5 separate regions of the Homo sapiens genome follow, and regions 1, 2, 3 and 5 are each linked to region 4. The links are contacts of gene promoters, found by promoter capture Hi-C in blood cells and fetal thymus (Javierre and others, 2016). All regions are on one chromosome and are shown on one strand. The core of a region is centred on a gene start or on the middle of the fragment in contact, and the rest is flanking DNA. Distances in the headings are between cores, read along the strand shown. Region 1 overlaps DOCK3 (dedicator of cytokinesis 3). Region 2 overlaps DOCK3 (dedicator of cytokinesis 3). Region 3 overlaps DOCK3 (dedicator of cytokinesis 3). Region 4 holds the start of CISH (cytokine inducible SH2 containing protein). Region 5 overlaps DOCK3 (dedicator of cytokinesis 3).

Region 1 (2,700 bases), core at 139-2,638, 700 kb after region 4:
CCAGGGGCCCAAGTGTGGGAGTTCAGTCGAGAGCCCAAAGGCTTAGCGCATTGGGAAGCATTAGAAACAAACAGTGCTGAAGTCCTGGCCTCATGGGTTTGCAGCCCTATCCTCCTGAACCTTCTCCCACTAACGGTTGGCTCCTGTGTTACTATTCTTAGGTATGGGGACATGCGTGTAATGATGGCCTATGAACTGTTCAGCATGTGGCAGAATTTGGGTAGGTTTTTTCTCCCTATTCTTCCCTTCTATATATTGCATAGCCAAATAGAAAGTAGCAAGACTAATAACATCTCCCAGGCTTTATGAATGTTAATTCAGGCCCAAGAGATCCTTACATATCTTTCACATAACACCTCAGATGGATGGTGTAGCACATGTGCATAAAGCCCTTGGCAAGGAGAGTTTGTCTGAGAAATAAGACCTCAGTAATACATATGCCAAATCCCTTTTTTTAGGAACTAAAGTCAAAAGAAAAAAAAGAAAAGGAGGGCTGTAGTAGTTTTTTCCAATTTGAGAACCCATTCCTATAAGATCCTCCATGCTCTTCACTTCCCAGTCTGGATGTTGCAGGCTCAAAAGCTTAGATCTGAGATACCCAGTACATGAGCAAAGGTGGCTATTAATTTTAATAAAGATTGAAACATTTATTGGATCTCTGGTATTCATGCATCCAGATCAGATACTTGACACCAGTTGCATGGAGTAACATATAAGAAGAGAACTGCAACCTCTGGGTGAGATCAGTTTTGGCTTCCCTTCTTTGCACAGCTTCTGCTTTGAATGCTTTGAAAATAGCCACTGCTTTGAATCTAAATTTGTCAGATCAGTGTTTTTGGTAGAATTTCTGGGTTGCCCTGGTGACTGAGTGGGCCATCCTGTGATATTGTAGAGTTCTGAGTGGCCTGTCAAGATGCTGGAGAACTATTATTATTTCAAGTGAAGTCTGCTTTCAGCTGAGCTCATGGTTCTGAAGCTGTAGGAATGATGGTCATAAAATCTCCAGTCCTCTGTTAACCATCCCCACCACTAACCTAGAGGCAGCAAGTAGGATATGAAGTATTTCTGCCGGCGAGAGGGCCTTCTATTCATGAGTGGGGATGCATTTCCCCAATCAGACTTTCCAACACTCTGGTTCCCTGTATCCAGCACAGTTTGGAAATGGATTTTAACCCAAAGTTGACTCTGAAATTCCCAGGAATGCAAGAGACTGGCTACTGTGCCAAGTACCAAAATTGGAATATGCTGAACCAGCCTCAGGGCTAAACATTTGCTTCTTAGAATTTTTTTTAATACCAGATTTGCCTGATAAAGCCTTTTCTGCCTCATTTCTTTTGGTGGAAATGACATTCTCTGGTCCCCAAGAAATGGTTTTACTTGGCCGTAGCATTCATTGCACAGACCCACAGTTTATCTCCTCAATAGTCTCTGAAGGACTGAGAGCAGAGCTCTGAAAGATGGTTCACTCTGTTTTACCATTGCAAGGAAGAGAAAAATCCTATCCCACCATCCACAGGACTGTCTCTGGCTTCTGGTAACATACCCTAGATGGCACGCCAATGAGAGGGAAACCCACATCACACACTTACCATGGAAATGCTTCATTAAGGAAGTTGAGGGTTGAGCTGAGCCAAGTAGGTGTAATGGCACCATCAGAAATGCAATATGAACACAAAGGGAGTTCAGGGTGGGTAAAGAGAGAATCTCTAAGCCAGCCTTTTAGGGTAGGGCTGTGCAGGAGACTCCTGCTAGCTCAGGAGGAGGACTTCTTTGGCATACATGAACATAGGCAGTGTAAAAATCCATGGACTTATTAGACGTCTGGTGGCTAGACCAGGGACTGGATATCCTCATCACTTAAATGTCTCTGGGCTAGAGCTAGAAACTCCAAGGAGAGTGCATTGTATTTAAGCAGAAATATTGGGTTTTTCTTGTTAAATAAACACTGTGAATAGACCATCTGACACTCATAGGTTACTCAGAAACCTATTCTGTCTAGAGTAGCAAACTCTGTTCCTTCATCTCAGAGAGATTTTCAGGTAGTTTGTGGGACTGTCAGGAAATTCTTTGGAAAAGCAGTTTTGTGACAGTTGCGCATTTGCTTTCACTGGGCTAGGCCAACTTTATCCATAAACTCTAAAAAGTTGAGGGAGAGTACCTCAGAAAACCATAGGGGAGAGCTTGTTTTGCTCTCAGAAGCTTCCAGTATGGATTGTAGCATGTGTTGTGGCCCCATTTGGGAATCTTCCATGGAAGGAGCAAAGCAGGCATAAACTAATTTGGGTTTTGTTTTTCAGGTGAACATAAGATCCACTTTATTCCGGGAATGATTGGTCCTTTTCTGGGTGTGACACTGGTCCCACAGCCAGAAGTACGGAATATCATGATTCCCATCTTTCATGACATGATGGACTGGGAGCAGAGAAAAAATGGCAACTTCAAACAGGTAAGACACCTGGCAGTGTTCGGGGTATTCTCTGGAATGGATCCCTTCTGCTTAGGCAGGTGGCCTAGATGACCAAGCCATGATTCTAGTGGGGATGGGCTGTAGTTTGGCTAATTTGAATCCTGTTCAAGGGTTTTCCCTTACTTGCTGGCCAAAATTGATTTGTGGATTTTCTCCATGAAGTTAGAGGCCAGAAAATAATGAGGCCAGGAAAGAATGAACATCACTATAACTTTCTGATCAAGGAATGATTG
Region 2 (2,700 bases), core at 80-2,579, 630 kb after region 4:
GGATCTTATTTCTCCTTCGCTTATGAAGCTTAGTTTGGCTGGATATGAAATTATTTATTGGAATTTCTTTTCTTTAAGAATGTTGAATATTGGCCCCCAGTCTCTTCTTGCTTGTTTCTACTGAGAGATCCACTTTTAGTCTCATGAGCTTCCCTTTGTAGGTGACCTGATCCTTCTCTCTAAATGCCTTTAACATTTTTTCTTTCATTTTGACCTTGGAGAATCTGATGAATATGTGTCTTGGAGATGATCTTCTTGTGAAGTATTTTACTGGGGTTCTCCGCATTTCCTGAATTTGAATGTTGCCCTTTCTAGCTAGGTTGGGGAAGTCTTCATGGATGATATCCTGAAATATGTTTTCTAAGTTGGTTCCATTCTCCCCGTCTATTTTAAGGACACCAGTGAGTTGTAGATTTGGTCTCTTTACATAATCCCATATTCCTCGGAGGTTTTGTTCATTCATTTTCATTCTTTTTTCTCTGTTCTTGTCTGACTGTCATATTTCAGAAGGCCAGTCTTCAAGCTCTGAGATTCTTTCCCGAACTTGGTCTATTCTGCTGTTAATACTTGCAATTGCATTCTGAAATTCCTGTAGAGTGTTTTTCAGCTCTGTCAGGTCAGTTACATTCTTTTCTATACTAACTATTTTGTCTGTCAGCTCCTGCATTGTTTTATCATGATTTTTAGCTTCCTTGGATTAGCTTTCAGTGTACTCCTGTAGCTCAATGATCATCATTCCTATCCATATTCTGAATTCTATTTCTGTCATTTCAGCCCTCTCAGCCCAGTTCAGAACCCTTGCTGGAGAGGTGATGCAGTCATTTGGAGGAAAGAAGGCTTTTTGAGTTGCCAGGGTCCTTGTGCTGGTTCTTTTTCATCTTTGTGGGCTTGTCACTCTTCAGTCTTCGAGGTTGCTGTCCTTTGGATGGTTTTTTTTTTCCCTTTTATCCTGTTTGATGACCTTGAATGTTTGATTATGGTATAAAGTGGATTCAGCCAGCTGGATTCATTTCTGGAACATTTTAGGGGACAGTGCTCAGCTCTCAACTCCTGGACTGTGCACTCTAACACAACTTGGGGACTGGTATTGGGCCCCAGCTTTGTTCTCTGGCTCCTTAAGGTTAGGAATCCACTGTACTGGGTAGGCCGAGATGCTCCCAGACTGCTGGCCATTCCACTTTGGCTGGGTGGTATAAGCCAAAGTGGTTCATAGTGCAGTGACAGCTGGATCTATCCCTGTTCACATGTGCCAGCAGCAGTGGGTACAGCAGCTGTGGCAGAGTCACCTGTGGCAGAGTGCTAGCAGATGCCAGTGTCAGGGTACCTGCCTCCCTGCAGGCATTGACCAAGGTGGCAGAGGCAACATGGCTGGGCAGAGCTGGGGCCCCTACTGGCAACTTTTGTGCAGTCACGGTAGAGATGGTGATGGCTCAGGGTTGGGACACTGAAGGTCTGGGTGCCTCCTCTGTGTCCTGCAAGCAGAAGTAGTCACTCAGGATAGGGGAGGATCTGCTATTCTCTGCACAGTGTTAGAGCAAGGGTGGGGCACTGACAAGGACGGGGCTGGCTGGCTCTGTGCCCACCAAGGCTCCATCTGCAATGGTGGTGGGAGCAGGGGACAGGCTGCACTCTTACATGCTAGCCCACTTTTTAATGGAAAAAGGAAAGCAAAACCTGCCAGTACAGACACAAGCCAGTAAAGCATTGTGGAGAGTTGCAGTGGGTCCTGGGGAAGCTGCAGTATGGGGAGGGGGCATGCAGGCTAGTGCGTGGCATAGGGTCGCACCAGTGGAGCTCTCCCCCATCAAGCATGGTCTGTGTAGAAGCTATGACATGGGGCCCCCAGGTCACCTGAGGCTGCCCTGCAAGCAGGTATGGCCAGACTTGGGCCCTAGGAGAGGCCAGCCAACCAAGGGGTGCTCAGGATAGACCAGCCCCATCTGATGGGCAAGACCGCCCTGCAGAGTTCAGGACCAACAGTTCCCCTAGGACTGAAGTCTCCCACGGGAGCAAGTCAAGCCTAGGGGGATGGCCATCCCTGGCTGTGCACCACTACAGACACTCCCATACCAAACCCCCTGGGCTCCACATCATCTGGTTTGCTACCCCTACCACTTCTCTAAGCAGCTCTCCCTGCCAACTCAAGTATCTGTGGTGGTTGAGGGCTCTCCTTCTGCCAGGGTTCCAGAGGCCATTAGTAAGAGCAAGTTGCTTCTTAATAGTTCACTCACCTTTCCTCCAGAGCCATCGAGGGCCAGGCTATTTTCTGGGTTTTTTTTTTTATAGTGGCCACCCTAATGGGTGTAAAGTGATATTTCTTTATGTTTTTTATTTGTGTTTCCCTAATTATCTTCCTTTGAGAAATGTGTATTCAAGTCCTTCACCCATTTTTTAAAAAGAGGTTATTTGTTTTATTGTTGAGTTATAGGAGTTCTTTATATATTCTGGATATTAACCCCTTATCAGTTATATGATTTATAAATATTTTTCCCAGTCACTTGGTTGCCTTTTCACTCTGTTGATTGTGTCCTTTGAGACACAGAAGTTTTTAAAGTTTTGATGTAGTCCACCTTATTTTTTGTTGTTGCCTGTGCTTTTGGTGTCATTTTCAAGAAATCATTGCCTAATATGAAGCTTTCACCTATCTTTTCTTTTAAGTGTTTTATAATTCTAGCCCTTAGATTTAGGTCTTTGATCCAC
Region 3 (2,700 bases), core at 73-2,572, 670 kb after region 4:
GGCGCCTGTAATCCCAGCTATTCGGGAGGCTGAGGCAGGAGAATCGCTTATACCTAGGAGGTGGAGGTTGCAGTGAGCCAAGATCATGCCATTGCGCTCCAGACTGGGTGATAAGAGCAAAACTCCATCCCAAAAAACAACAATAATAATAATTTCAGAGACCTAGAAAGGGTTTGAGAGACTAAAACCTGTTGTCACTTTCTCATGAGTTTATAAACATTTGAAAATTGCCCAAGTGAAGTAAATGTTCTCCCTCCCTTTTAAGGAGGCAACTAAGAGGAGGCCATGCTTGACTGCCTCCTGCCAAAAGTTGCTGTAAGATGGTTTTTGAAGTCCTTAAAGCAGGATTTTATTCCATGTATTCCAATTGGAACTTGAAGACATTTTGAACATTGATATTTCTCCTTTAATTTCTACTTGTCTTAAAGCCCATAGCTTGTCCCCTCAAAAAGGTCAGTTTTAACTCCTCTGCCTTTCAGACAGGCATATTGATCTGCGCTGTGTTTTGTTTGCCCAGTCCAGTAACCCTGTGCAAATTCTAGGAGGTTCCAAAGAAGTCCTTGTAGAAGGGCTGCTCTAGTCCAGCAGGATCGGCAGAGTCCAAATTCTGTCCAGAGAGGGTTAAGCTCTCCCCTTTTCCAAGTATCCTCTATAGACTTCAGTACAGTGCCCTGGCAGCAAAGGACTATTTAGCCAAAACTTTCCTAGGAAAAAAAGGGAGAATATTTGTCTCACTTTGCAGTACTACTTTATTATAGTTTAAGGTTTTTCAGTAGCCCCATGCTGCAGAGGGTTTATTTCCCCCTAATCCCTCCAGGCTTTCCTTAGCAGAAAATAAAGCTTTAGAGGGCTAGATTTGTCATCTTTCTTCCATGATCATTGGGGCCATCTCAGACCCTCCCTTCTCTCCTTGCCCTCTATGGATTGGGGGAACACAGCCCTTGCAATTGGCCATGCTAAGTGTTTTTTTGGGTTGGTCCCTAGGGCGAGTATGTGTCCTGCCTTCTCTCACTGCTCCGCCAGATGTGTGACACCCATTTCCAGCACCTCCTGGACAACTTCCAGAGCAAAGATGAACTCAAGGTAGGCAGTAGAACACCTTTCCTCTGGGAGAGGAAGTGTGCAGCCAGCACTCCCCAGGGGCTTTTTCCCTGTCAGGGGGATGAATGCAAGTGACTAGCATTGCCACGGGTGTAGGATTCACCAGCCCTGCTTTACAGCTGAGTGTTGGCCTCCAGAAGCTGAAAGCCAGCAGTGTCCCCACACAGCTGGACCCTCGTAACACTGCCAAGTTTTCCTTGACTATTAGCGGCCCTGTGATCATGTGCCTCTATTAGAGGCTACTCTGTCCCACACTGGTTGTCAGACAACCAGGACTCCTTCCTTTCTTAGTAACTTGGCAGTTACCCTTATATTTTGTACCTGCAAATTAGGATTTGCTGTTTTAATACCTTTAATAATAATAATGGTGTCAATTTTTTTCATTTAAATATATTTGTGGAAGATACCTTTAGAGAGCAAGGGTGTGCACTGCTCATTTGCTGCCAAACTCTGGGTCTGGAGCACTGAGGGTCTTATTTTTATCACAGATTGCTATACATAATTTAAAAAGCCAAAGCATACTACAAAGTTCATAATATAAAACACCTGTAGTCCTAGCTACTCTTGAGGCTAAAGTGAGAGGATCGATTGAGCCCAGAAATAATTTTTTTAAAAAATACAGTGGTTTCCTGGCTCAGCCTGACTCGTGTCCAGTCCCTACTCCACAAAGGCAGCCACTTTCAATTCTTTTGCTATTCTTCAGGAAGCTTCTACTACTATTTTTAGCTATTGTTAGTTATTATCTATTTTCCTCTTTCTATGGAAAATGAAGATGATTCTCCAGAATCATTCCTCTCTCACACACACATCCTTCCTCCCATTTTCCCAATGTAGTTTTCATATATTTTTGTTTGCATTGATTATATTGTTTATCTTTTCTTTATTACAGCTAAATAAGTACTGTGGTGAGCCAAGACTGTCCTGGGATTATATTTCTTTTCTTGTAGAACAGTGATGTCCAGTCTTTCGGCTTCCCTAGGCCACATTGGAAGAAGAATTGTCTTGGGCCACACATTAAATACACTAACACTAACGATAGCTGATGAGCTAAAATATATATATATATATATATATATATATATATCTCATAATATTTTAAGGAAGTTTACAAATCTGTGTTGGGCTGCATTCAAAGCCATCCTGGGCTGCATATGGCCCATGGGCCGTGGGTTAGACAAGCTTGTTGTCGAACTTATTGTTTTTATAAAAATTAATTGCCTCTTTTTTTATTTGCTTATGCTTTGTTTTGTTTTGGTCATCAAATCTGGTGAGGATTTCCCACTCTTGCTATCATCTTTCTAATATATCTCTTCTTCCAGCTTGCCTTATGGTCAAATCTATCAGATGTCAGGTCACTTTTTTTTCCTAGAGATTTGCTCCCCCACTGCTTTTATTTGTTTCAGTCACTATCTTTTGTGTTGGAGACTCTCCTCCTACAGACTTTCCTATAGAGACTCCTGGATGATAGTGTGTATCTAAAAGTGAAGTCCTTCAGTGCTGATTACAAACTCTATGTATAGGCAGGGCTTTCTCTAGCAGGCTTCCCTGTAGATGGCCAAAGAGATCTGCCCTTTTGGTCAGAGCATTCCCCAATTCCTG
Region 4 (2,700 bases), core at 17-2,516:
GAGCTTACAAGGGGGTGCTCACCTAGGGTAAAAAGTGAAAGAGGCTATGGGACCCCGGAATGCAGGGGGAGGCTCCTGGGGTGGAAGGCAGTGGTGGGGCAGGTATTCAGGAGTCCCAGAATGCAGACAGGAGGAAGGAACTTGCTGGAGACAGCAAGGGAGAAGTAGTCTTCCCAGCACCTCCATGTCCTCTTCCTTGGCCTCACCTTCCACCCTCCCTCACTTGGCACCAGGCCAGTTGCGATAAGCACAGCCACCCAGTCCTCCCTGAGTGCAGAACACCCATTTATACCTTCTTCCTCTCTCCTTGGAGCTTCCTGAGCTCCTGTCACATCACCATGGCCAGCATCAGACCCTTTGGTTGAAGGGGTTGCTGAGGTTCAGGACAGAGTGGATGGCCAGGAATGCTCAGCTCAGGTCAAGACTCTGTCTTATCAGCATCCCCTCTCCACTGTCCCTTACCTCAAGTCTGGGAAATTTGAAGATGAGAGGCAGGAGCCAAGGTCCTTCTCACATTGGGATCCCAGACTGGGCTGAGACAGGGTTGTGAGACGATTGTGGGGGTACCCCAAGCAGGACCAGGCCAAACCCAGGGCCTCCCGAGAGTTGCAGACCATCAGGTGCCAGCCTGAGGAAAGGCAAGGATCTGCGGCTGGCTTCCCAAGAAGAGCCTACTTGCTAGCCTGGGGCAGGAGAGGGGACACCAGGACAGAGGGGGCCAGGGGCTGGTCCAAGGTTACTAGCAGGCAGGGCAGCAGGCAGGCTAGCGTAGAGTGCTCTGGGCCCAGAAGAATATCTGGGATTGTTGGCCACATCTTGGGGGACGCCGTGCCGTTAGCATCCATCTGCTCCAATGAGAACCCAGGCTGAGCCCACCCTGTGAGTTCCTCCTTTAGCCGGCCAGCCCCCGGTTTCCCAATCCACAGTGGGAATTGAGGTAAGTGTGTGGGGGCGGGGAGTGGGAGTGTCACAGCCCCACACAGAGCCTTGCTCCTGAGGTCCGTCTGCGCTCAGTCACCTCTGGCCCGTCAAGCCCTCCCAATGCCCGGCAGCTAGCACGAAGCCCCTGTTCTCCCGTGCGCCCCTCGTGGTGGCCGGGAAGGGGGCAGAGAGCCGCGCTTACCCCTGAACGCAGAGGACCATGTCCCCGCGGCAGCGGCGACTCCGGAGTGGGGACTCGGCTGGACGGCGGCGGCTGGAGGGAACCAGTGGGCGCGGAGCGCGTGCTGGGTAGGCTCCCGGGGCGCGCGGGCGCAGGACAGGGACTGAGAGGCAGTGGCGCGGACCGCCTGCGAGGGCGAGGGGGGCGGGCCAGACGAGCGGGGCGGGGCGAGCTGCTGCCTAATCCTTTGTCTGCCGCGTTCCAGCCCTTCCCGGAAGCAGCGTCTTCCTAGAACCGCGGGCTGAGCGGTGGGGCCCGGGCGGGGTGCGCGGGCCCCGTCGCCGGGTCTGGGGCCCTGAGCAGTGAAAGGAAATACTTTGACAGATTTCCAAGAACTTTCCAGGAAAACGGGGCGGGGCCCCGCGAGCTGACCAATCGCGACGCTGAAGGTGGAGCCGAGCGGTCGGGGAGGGCCAATAGCAGCGCGTGGACCCGGGGCTGAAGCTACCCAGAGGGGCAGGTCGGAGAGATCAGTGGGGAAAGACCGGGTCGGGGAAGTTAAGGAGGGGCCCGGGCTCAGCAACCCGCGCCCAGATTGCCTTCTGGCATTCTGCGTCGTTGGGGAAGGGCCCTCTTATCTCGCGGTGGAACTCGTGGCAGGGCGGGGGGCGGAGTCCCGGGCTTGTCCTCCCTGCGAGCGGCTCCTCCAAGGAGGTCTGTCGGCGTGTGCAAGCGCCCCGTGTTGGGACGGCCGCTCCTGGACCCTAGGACTCTGTGTGTCGGGTGTCGGATTGGGTGGCATGGGGTGAGATCTGGAGCGGGACTTAGGGCAGGGCGGGGTGCAGAGGACAGTTCCAGAAATGAGTGGGTCCACTGAGGTCAAGCCGGCGGTCACCACAGCCAGAAAGATCCAGACAAGAACGTTTTCTTTGAAAGAGTTGAAGGAGAAAGCACGCCCCAACTTTTCGAATCAGGCAGACCATCCAGTCTTGGCTGGCACTGGTTTCTGGCCGGCCCTGCCAGTCAGGGGAGAAGAGACTACAGATTTGAGAAAGCAAGCAGAGACAGCCCCAGATGGCCCGGACTCTGGGTTGGTACCACCCCCACCCCCCGCCAGAAAAAAAATGCTGAGAGAGAGTCCTGCAACTCAAAACATAGGGAGATAATCTGGGAGTAGGGTGATAGAGGTTGGGGCGGGATGGCGGGGGCAGAGTAGTAACACTCGCTCTTATCTACAGGGAGTACTTGCTGCATTTGATCCTCTACAACTGGTGTTGCTCCCGTTATGCGGACAGAAGACAGCCCCAGGGAACAAATGCTAGGAAATGGCAGGGTAAGAGCTTGGTCCCAGCTCTGAATCAGAAGCCCACGCTCCTACCAGGACCCTCTCCACCTTTTTTCAGTTCACTGGATTCACTATGGAGCATCTTGAAGGACTGTAGGGTCTGTGAATCTCCTCCAAACCCTTGGGCCAGAAGAACTGTGGGATTTGGAGAGGTTGCAGGGTCCACTCCCCACCCCCATCCCCCTCCCAGTGTGTGCCCCCAGGGTCCCCAGAAAGGAGTCTAGCTCTGAGATCCTGGGCAGGGATGACAGAC
Region 5 (2,700 bases), core at 29-2,528, 650 kb after region 4:
CAAGAAGTTCTGTTCTATCCTTTACCTATAGGGATTCTAGTCCCTACCTATAAGGATTCCAGGGTGTCAGTTCTGACCTTGTCCCTCTTTTGTCCTCTGCTGAGCCCAGCAAGCCATCATCTTAATCATACAAAACCAAAATACCTAAAGGGGAAGGTCAGACCTGCTACCTAGCCATTTAGTTTGGAAAATGCAAACATTTATTTTCTTTGTTCCGATAGAAAATACCTCCTACTTCAGTGACTTCAAACTGGCATAAGCTAATAAATGAAGCTAGCTCAGAAGTGTATACTTTCTGCTTCATGGGCCTGAAGAGTCACCACAATATAGACATACTAGAGCAGTGGCAGAGTCCAGCCTGCAAGTGTCTGGGTTTAGAAACTAACAGATATTTCAAGTTCTTTATAGACTAGGCATTAAAAAGCTACTAGAACAGAGGGTGTAGCATTTATGGAGATGAGGCCGCACACTAAATCCTTCTACAGAATCATCTGGTACAAGCCCTGTAAGACACATTTTTCTAAACTGGCATTCCCCAGTGCCAACTGAATTTTGTATGGGCCACAAAATATTAAGTTCTGCTTTTCCAAACCATCTAACAGCTGGATAGATCATGAAAGGTAGTTTGGGAATTGTTTCCTGTTTTATATTTCAAGTACCTGACTTCTGTTTGTTTCAGCCTTGCATAAGTTTCTCTCCATTATTTCTGGCTTTTCAGTGTCTGGGAAATCTGTGGCATTTTTTTTTTATTAGAAAACATAGTATTGGGTCTTGAATTTGTTCTCTTAAAAGAAAATTACTCTGTAAGCATGGGCCAAGCGTCAGGAACTCCTCAGAATCAGATTCTGCTCCCAAACATTTTTGCAGAAGCTTCATCTTGTACCATTTATGAACTGCTTATAGCAGATGTCTTGGTGGGAAGAGGGTGGATACTGGATGTATCAGGCCTATCAGCTGCTGTGCAGCCTGGGACAGGTTTTCTTCAGATTTCTGTGACCCCTGGTGAAAAAGGAGGAACTGTGTCAGGCCCCAGCTATATCTTAAAGATGTAGGAGACTCCTAAGTCTGAGGATTCCTCAGTCCTTTAGGACACTTCCTTCTTGCAGTAAACTTGAGTCTTTCTTACATCCTTGCCTTGTGACCCTTTTATTTCCAGACCTGAAAAAAAATACAGAGAAACTTATTTTTTAAACTCTGAGTGGTCTTGAATTCAACTATTTCTATAACAGTCTATGGCTCCTTAATTCCAGAACCTCAGAAAACAGTTGTGAAATTATTTGATGATTCTTTCAGTAAGAAGGTAGCTGCTGCTTAGTGACAATTTGGATATTTGAGAAAAAATTTTTAAAAATAAAGTACCTATCTATCTCCATAGTTAGAATTGCCCAACACCTGATTTTGGTATAGAAACTGCTGTTACTTTGCCCCTTGTTTCCTGCTATGTGAGTTCCTGAGCATCTTCAACATCTCTCCATCACTTTTTCTCCCACACTTTTCAGGCCTTGGAGTACCTTTTCAAGTTCATTGTACAGTCACGGATCCTGTACTCACGAGCCACTTGTGGAATGGAAGAGGAACAATTCAGATCCAGTATCCAAGAACTTTTCCAGTCCATCCGGTTTGTGCTCAGTCTGGACAGCCGAAACTCAGAAACACTCCTTTTTACTCAGGTTCGCACACTGCAGGGAAGCTTTGATGCTGGGTTCCTCTTTCTCAGTGGGTGGTTTCTTTGTCCTCTGGTTTTCAGAGATGAAGAAGCCCTGCCAGGATCATGTGTGTTGGGTAAGGGATTATTTACAAGGAAATACCTGATACAACAAAATGCTGCTTTTACTGCAAATCTGGCTGTGCCTCAGCTGCCAGATGTAAAACAGCTCAGTGGCTTTATGTTGGAGAAGAAGCACAAATTTGTTCTGTGAACAGTCTTTAGACCAAGTTTATTTAGCTACCATACTACTTAGTTTTTTATGAACACCTTATTCATAGGAGATATTGAGAATGTATGGGGAATTTTATTTCCAGATTAATCATTGTATTAATGAAAATTGAGCACAGTGGCTCACACCTGTAATCCTAGCACTTTGGGAGGCCAAGGTGGGCGGATTGCTTGAGCTCAGGAGTTCAAGACCAGCCTGGGCAACATGATGAAACCCCATCTCTACTAAAAATACAAAAAAATTAGCTGGGTGTGCTAGCATGCACCTGTAGTCCCAGCTACTCAGGAGGCTGAGGCAGGAGAATTGCTTGAACCCGGGAGGCAGAGGTTGCAGTGAGCCAAGATCGCACCACTGCACTCCAGCCTGGGCAACAGACTGAGACTCTGTCTCCAAAAAGAAAAAGAAAAAAAAAGAAAATTTAGATTAGCTTTTATCCATTCCAGAAGTTGAATGAAATAATTTGAAAAACAGTAGGAGTAACTAGGAATCTTTGGCTAAGAATTAAGATTAAATTAGGATCAGAGGGCTGGCAAGATGGCCAAATAGGAACAGCTCCGGACTGCAGCTCCCAGCGAGATCAACACAAAAGGCAGGTGATTTCTGCATTTCCAACTGAGGTACCCGGCTCATCTCATTGGGACTGGCTAGACAGTGGGTGCACCCATGGAGGGCAAGCAGAAGGAGGGTGGGGCGTCGCCTCACCTTGGAAGTACAAGGGGTTGGGGAACTCCCTCCCCTACCCAAGGGAAGCTGGGAGAGACTG

What was found. Contacts are between HindIII fragments. The CHiCAGO score rates a contact against its expected background, and 5 or more counts as called.
Region 1: a contact is called between a fragment that was not itself captured here and the fragment with the promoter of CISH in region 4, in 10 of 17 cell types (activated CD4 T cells, total CD8 T cells, total CD4 T cells and 7 more). The highest score is 11.9, in activated CD4 T cells.
Region 2: a contact is called between a fragment that was not itself captured here and the fragment with the promoter of CISH in region 4, in 1 of 17 cell types (neutrophils). The highest score is 6.7, in neutrophils.
Region 3: a fragment that was not itself captured here is called in contact with the fragment with the promoter of CISH in region 4 in 2 of 17 cell types (naive CD4 T cells and naive CD8 T cells); the score reaches 6.0 in naive CD4 T cells.
Region 5: a fragment that was not itself captured here is called in contact with the fragment with the promoter of CISH in region 4 in 1 of 17 cell types (neutrophils); the score reaches 5.2 in neutrophils.

What each region holds. Positions count from the first base shown.
Region 1 is chr3:51,312,683-51,315,382 of GRCh38, forward strand. It overlaps DOCK3 (dedicator of cytokinesis 3), which reads left to right. Exons shown (of 53, transcript NM_004947.5): 31 at 162-220; 32 at 2,298-2,446. Among named protein-coding and RNA genes, the nearest start is that of MANF, 71 kb to the right of the region's middle. The HindIII fragment of the contact is 1,617 bases long and covers 581-2,197 here.
Region 2 is chr3:51,241,158-51,243,857 of GRCh38, forward strand. All of the region lies in intron 21 of DOCK3 (dedicator of cytokinesis 3), which reads left to right. Among named protein-coding and RNA genes, the nearest start is that of MANF, 140 kb to the right of the region's middle. The HindIII fragment of the contact is 2,606 bases long and covers 27-2,632 here.
Region 3 is chr3:51,279,122-51,281,821 of GRCh38, forward strand. DOCK3 (dedicator of cytokinesis 3) reads left to right here. Exons shown (of 53, transcript NM_004947.5): 27 at 985-1,083. Among named protein-coding and RNA genes, the nearest start is that of MANF, 100 kb to the right of the region's middle. The HindIII fragment of the contact is 968 bases long and covers 839-1,806 here.
Region 4 is chr3:50,610,508-50,613,207 of GRCh38, forward strand. It overlaps CISH (cytokine inducible SH2 containing protein), which reads right to left and starts at 1,267. Exons shown (of 3, transcript NM_145071.4): 1 at 1,124-1,267. The coding sequence starts at 1,143. It also overlaps a transcript of MAPKAPK3 not described here. RefSeq lists enhancers at 226-786, 1,696-1,785 and a silencer at 1,136-1,615. The HindIII fragment of the contact is 4,554 bases long and covers 1-2,700 here.
Region 5 is chr3:51,258,657-51,261,356 of GRCh38, forward strand. DOCK3 (dedicator of cytokinesis 3) reads left to right here. Exons shown (of 53, transcript NM_004947.5): 23 at 1,500-1,670. Among named protein-coding and RNA genes, the nearest start is that of MANF, 130 kb to the right of the region's middle. The HindIII fragment of the contact is 820 bases long and covers 869-1,688 here.